Regions from separate parts of the Homo sapiens genome. Here region 2 is linked to region 1. Evidence: promoter capture Hi-C in human tissues and cell types (Jung and others, 2019). All regions are on one chromosome and are shown on one strand. Each heading gives the region's core, a stretch centred on a gene start or on the middle of the fragment in contact. The rest is flanking DNA. Distances are from core to core; before and after follow the strand shown. Region 1 holds the start of NTN1 (netrin 1). Region 2 overlaps NTN1 (netrin 1).

What was found. Contacts are between HindIII fragments. The study calls those that stand out against the background at their distance.
Region 2: a fragment that was not itself captured here is called in contact with the fragment with the promoter of NTN1 in region 1 in 4 of the 25 tissues and cell types used here (heart left ventricle, mesendoderm cells, neural progenitor cells and 1 more).

What each region holds. Positions count from the first base shown.
Region 1 is chr17:9,020,157-9,022,856 of GRCh38, forward strand. NTN1 (netrin 1) reads left to right here and starts at 1,354. Exons shown (of 7, transcript NM_004822.3): 1 at 1,354-1,429; 2 at 2,155-2,700. The coding sequence starts at 2,218. RefSeq lists silencers at 716-765, 816-1,605 and an enhancer at 752-1,295. The HindIII fragment of the contact is 11,312 bases long and covers 1-2,700 here.
Region 2 is chr17:9,196,932-9,199,631 of GRCh38, forward strand. All of the region lies in intron 5 of NTN1 (netrin 1), which reads left to right. Among named protein-coding and RNA genes, the nearest start is that of NTN1, 180 kb to the left of the region's middle. The HindIII fragment of the contact is 7,572 bases long and covers 1-2,700 here.

The DNA of each region.
Region 1 (2,700 bases), core at 104-2,603:
TGAAAATGCCAATAAGACAAACTGAGGCACTTAATGGAGCTAATGCAGCAAGGCAGCCCTTGGGCCGGAACCAGGACCTGGGGCTTTTCATCCGGGTCTATTACTGGACCACACATCTACAAGTAACAAATAAACGAGCAGAGATTCCGTTCCAAACTCTCGGCCCAGTGTATTCCTTTCCCAGAGCTCTCTGGCTGCTGTTGCAAGATGACCAAAGGATGCTGTCACTGTCCTCAGTCTTTTTATTGGGGCGATGGAGAATGAGGCAAGGAGGGGCTGGGTGGCCCCGCAGATGCCCCATGACACCATCATTCGGCAAGGTTATGCATTTGACGAATGCCCTGCAGTGGAAGGAGCCCAGGCTTCTCTTCCTGTTTTTGATGTTTACTTGGGGGTTGATCTTGTGCGAGTTTCTTCAGCTCCCGGGACCCTCAGTTTCCTCATCTGCAAAATGGAGTTAATACAACAGCAAAGCTGCTGTGGAGGTCCCATGAGCTATTACAGGGCTTTGCACCCTTAAAAATGCGGTTGAGGAAGTACCGATACGCCTGCCTCAGGGGATCTGGGGAGGGCTGGGCTGTCCCCATGCCTGAGACCAGGCAGGCCCGTCTTGGAGGGGCGGTGGCCAGCGTCCAGGTGCTGCCAGCTTCCTACCCCTTCAGCCTCCTGCCCACCACTGCTCCCTTGGCTAGAACGAAGCCGCGTTCCCGACAGACAGGCTCACGCACGGTGATATCCGTGGGAGTGCGGGCGAGCAGCCCCTCCTCGCCGGACCCCGGGGGCTTCGGGCAAAAATGGAGAGCAGGCAGAGGTCACATCCTCCTCCTCTTCCTCACGCTCCCGGGCTGCGTGCCCACAGGGGCACAGCCCTGTGCGCGGTGCCACCGGGGGCCATCAGGCTGGGTTAGAGGAAGGCCCGACCTCCGCGCAGCAAAGAAAACAAACACAGATGTGTTTGGCTGGGACCGGGAGGGAGAAAGTGGCCCCCTTCCCCCGCCCGCGCGCTCCCCCGGGCGTGAGGCTCTCCGGGCGGCGCGGGGCGCGGGCGAGGCTGACAGTCCCCGGCGGCCCCTCCTCCCCCACGGGGTGCGCGCCTGGCCCGGCCCAGCCCCCTCTCCGGGGTTTCCCCGGGTGCTCTCCTCGCTTTCTCTTTGTCTCTGCTGTTCTTTCTCGGGCTCCCGGGTTCCCACCCGCCTGTGCTCTCCCTCTCGGGCGTCCGGGCCGGTTCCCTTTAACTTTCTTCTTTCCCGGGGTGAAAACTTTGCTCGGAGCTGGCGGCAGCTCGCGGACGTTATTGGCCGGCGCCCCGCCCGGCGGCCCCGCCCCCCGCCCCCGCGCTCCCCTCCGCCCCTCACTCCCAGCGCGAGTGGCGGCGGCGGCGGAGCCTTCGGGGGCGAGCGCGCGTGTGTGTGAGTGCGCGCCGGCCAGCGTGAGTGTGTGTGCGCCCCGGGCGCGGGCAGGGCAGCACTCCGAGCTCGGCGGGAGCGGCGGGAGCCGGGCGGCCGCGTAGTCACTCGGGCGAGAGAGGCGGCGGCGGGGCCGGGACCGGGGCTGGGGCTGGGGCAGCGGCGGCCGCGCCGGGCATGGAGCTGGCAAGCCCGCGCTGAGGCGGGACGCGCCTGCTAGCAGCGAGCGAGAGGCTCTCCGGCGACCGGCGCGCGGGCTCCCCGGAGGGGCCAGGCAAACTTTTCTTTCTCTTTTGCCCCCTCCAGAGGTAAAGTCCCGAACGCGGACTTTCCGGCGGGGACGCGATCGGGGGGCATCTGAGAGGGACCCCGGGCTGCGAGACGAAGGGGCGCGGGCCGTGCAGAGTCGGGGTCCCCCAGCTCTCCTGCGCCCGAAACTTGGGGTGCGAGGGGGGCTGGTCGCGGACGGGGAGACCGGCTCAGGCATGCCCCTCGGGCGGCGTGGGGGCGGCGGTGGCGGGGAAGCAGAGCGTTCTCCCGCCGGGCGGGGAAGAAGGGGCGCGAGCGGTGCGGACTTGGAGGGCCCCGGCTTCGCCGCCCGCGGGACTTTGGGGGAGAGAGGCGGGCAGTCGGCTGCGGGGTGGGTGCCCAGGAAGCCGGGCGTTCTCCCGCATCTCCGCTCGCCACCCCGCCGAGAGCTGGAGGGCGCGGGGCGGGCTGGCTGAGCGCAGCTCCCTTCTCTCCGCAGGCGCCTTCTGCGGCAGGCGGACAGATCCTCGGCGCGGCAGGGCCGGGGCAAGCTGGACGCAGCATGATGCGCGCAGTGTGGGAGGCGCTGGCGGCGCTGGCGGCGGTGGCGTGCCTGGTGGGCGCGGTGCGCGGCGGGCCCGGGCTCAGCATGTTCGCGGGCCAGGCGGCGCAGCCCGATCCCTGCTCGGACGAGAACGGCCACCCGCGCCGCTGCATCCCGGACTTTGTCAATGCGGCCTTCGGCAAGGACGTGCGCGTGTCCAGCACCTGCGGCCGGCCCCCGGCGCGCTACTGCGTGGTGAGCGAGCGCGGCGAGGAGCGGCTGCGCTCGTGCCACCTCTGCAACGCGTCCGACCCCAAGAAGGCGCACCCGCCCGCCTTCCTCACCGACCTCAACAACCCGCACAACCTGACGTGCTGGCAGTCCGAGAACTACCTGCAGTTCCCGCACAACGTCACGCTCACACTGTCCCTCGGCAAGAAGTTCGAAGTGACCTACGTGAGCCTGCAGTTCTGCTCGCCGCGGCCCGAGTCCATGGCCATC
Region 2 (2,700 bases), core at 143-2,642, 180 kb after region 1:
ATCTCTTCCCAATTCTGCATTCAGGGTGTCCTGCTGGGAGTTTGAAATTGGCCATGGTGGGAATATTTACACTTCGGAAGTTGACAAATGGTAAAATCAAAGCATTTTTTTTTTTTAGTTCCCCAGAGAGCCAGTTGTCAGACATTCCTCAGCACAGCATTGTCCAAAAGGCATCCTGAGAGTGAAATTCAGGCTCTCAATACCAGAAGGAACCTAGAGATAGGTCATCCGATCGGGCCTGCACATCTGACAGATGGGGAGACTGAGGCCCAGAGGAGGACAGTGGCTTGTCTTAGGTCATGCAGTGAGTCAATGGCAGAACCGGTATTTCCACTTTACCACGGTCCTTCAAGTAGACCATCCTTTCAAGCAGGAAGCTATGGAGTGACACAGAGGCTTAGCAAAGCTTCCTCCTCCTGAAGAGGGATTAGAAATTCATGACGTGGGCCAGGCGTGGTGGCTCACACCTGTAATCCCAGCACTTTGGGAGGCCAAGGTGGGCAGATCATCTGAGGTCAGGAGTTCGAGACCAGCCTGGCCAACATGGCGAAACCCTGTCTCTACTAAAAATATAAAAAATTAGCCAGGCGTGGTGGAGGGCACCTGTAGTCCCAGCTACTTGGGAGGCTGAGGCACGAGAAACACTTGAACAGAGGAGGTGGAGGTTGCAGTGAGCTGAGATCACAGCACTGCACTCCGGCCTGGGTGACAGAGCAAGACTCTGTCCAAAAAAAAAAAAAAAGAAGGAAGAAAAAGAAAAGAAATTCATGGAAGGGGAAATGGGTTTTAGAGAAGACTGCTTCAAGATTTTCTTCAGGCTGAAGCTGGGCTAGGCATCTACCAGCCTCCCTCTTCCCCTGCCCTAGTCTCCTGGACCAGCCTTCCTTCTGTCCTACGAGGCCACCTCCTTCAGCCCAAGGATTAGGAAGTTGCACTTCAGCATCTAAAAATCTTCCCATGGTCCAAGATACCTTCACAGTAGCTTCTATCTTCACCAGAGAAGCCTCCAAGAAGGTGGTGACCTTTTGGGATTGTCCTGGACTTACCCTTCCCTCTTCTTCTTTGAGGCTAGTTGATGGCTGTGGGTGGGATGCCAGCCATCCACCCAGGTTATCGGGGCCCTGCTGTCTTTGGCTTTAATTCTCCCCAGAACCTCAGGGGGCCCGAGACAGGGATTCTTGTGTGGGTGATTTATTGAGGGGGTGCTTTCAGGAGAAACCAGTAAGGGCATGAGGGAAGCACGAGAGTGCAGGGGAAGAAACTGGGAAAACACAAGGCTGCAGTGGAAGTCTAGCCTCAGCCTGATCACGCGGGAGCTTGGGAATCATATCCAAGAAGTTGTCATATTTACAGGCAAAAGGGCTGGGCAGTGATACCTGCCCAAGTCAGTCAGCCATTGGCTATGTTACATGGGCAAGGGCACCTATAACCTCCCGGATATCTCCAGGGAAAGCAGTGTCCATCCGTCAAGGGCAAACATTCAGAGAAGGGTGCAAGTGTGAGCTGCGTGCAGCTGGGTGCACAGGTCCAGTCAAGGGGCTCTGGGCGGGGCTCCAGCCACCTCTGCTATACTTGGTAGGTGATTTGGTGGGAAGGGAAGTTTTACTGGAATCTGGGGACCATCTGTGGGTTTCTGTTTTGTCCACTCTCCAAGAGCCCTACACTGTAGAAAAACCTGGTGGTTATTCTCTGAGGTCCCATGTCCTCCCTCCTGTGTCCAGCTGGTCTCAGTAATGACAGTCTTACTGATATCTCTCACATCTCTTCTCTAGAAGACCAGAGACCAAGGGGAACTGGAGCGAGAGAATCACAGCCCAGGAGTTCAGGCTCAGCTGTGGATCCTACAGATCCCTAAGTACTGTATCTGACCTTTTGCTGGGAAGATCACATGTAGACCTCCCAGAGAGACTTCCAAAACAGCTCTGACAGACAAAGGACTAACCGCTTTCACCTACGAGGGAGGCCATATGTGTGGGAGGCACCATTGAGCTCCATTCCTGGTACCCACTACCAGCTCCTGTTAGAAGCTGGGGAACAGTGACTTGGGCCCCTTGGGACAAGATAACAGGCATACCACCACGGCTGCACCCACTATTGTCCTAATTCAAACTCTTTCTCTACTTCTCACAACCCTGTATTGGTCAGGGAAGATTATGTGCTGTAACAAACAGCTCAGATAGTATAGTCCAGCTATTTCTTTTTCTTTCTTTCTTTTTGTTTGTTTGTTTGAGACAGTGTTTCGCTCTTGTTGCCCAGGCTGGAGTGCAGTGGCACAATCTCGGCTCATTGCAACCTCCGCTTCCTGGGTTCAAGCAATTCTCCTGCCTCAGCCTCCCAAGTAGCTGGGATTACAGGCACCCACCACCACGCCCAGCTAATTTTGTATTTTTAGTAGAGATGGAGTTTCAACATGTTGGCCAGGCTGGTCTTGAAGTCCTGACCTCAAATGATCCACCCACCTCAGCCTCCCAAAGTGCTGGGATTACAGGCATGAGCCATTGCACCCGGCCCTGCTATTTCTTACTTTATACCACAGTCCATCACAGCCCTGGATGGGTGGCTCCCTTCCAAGCAGTGAGTCAGGGGCCCAGGCCCCTTTCATCACATGGCTCTGCCATCTTCTAGGGCCTGTCATTGTGGGTTTCTCTGCATCCAGCCACAGTCAGGGAAAGAGAACATTGGGAGCTCTTGGGAAACCTA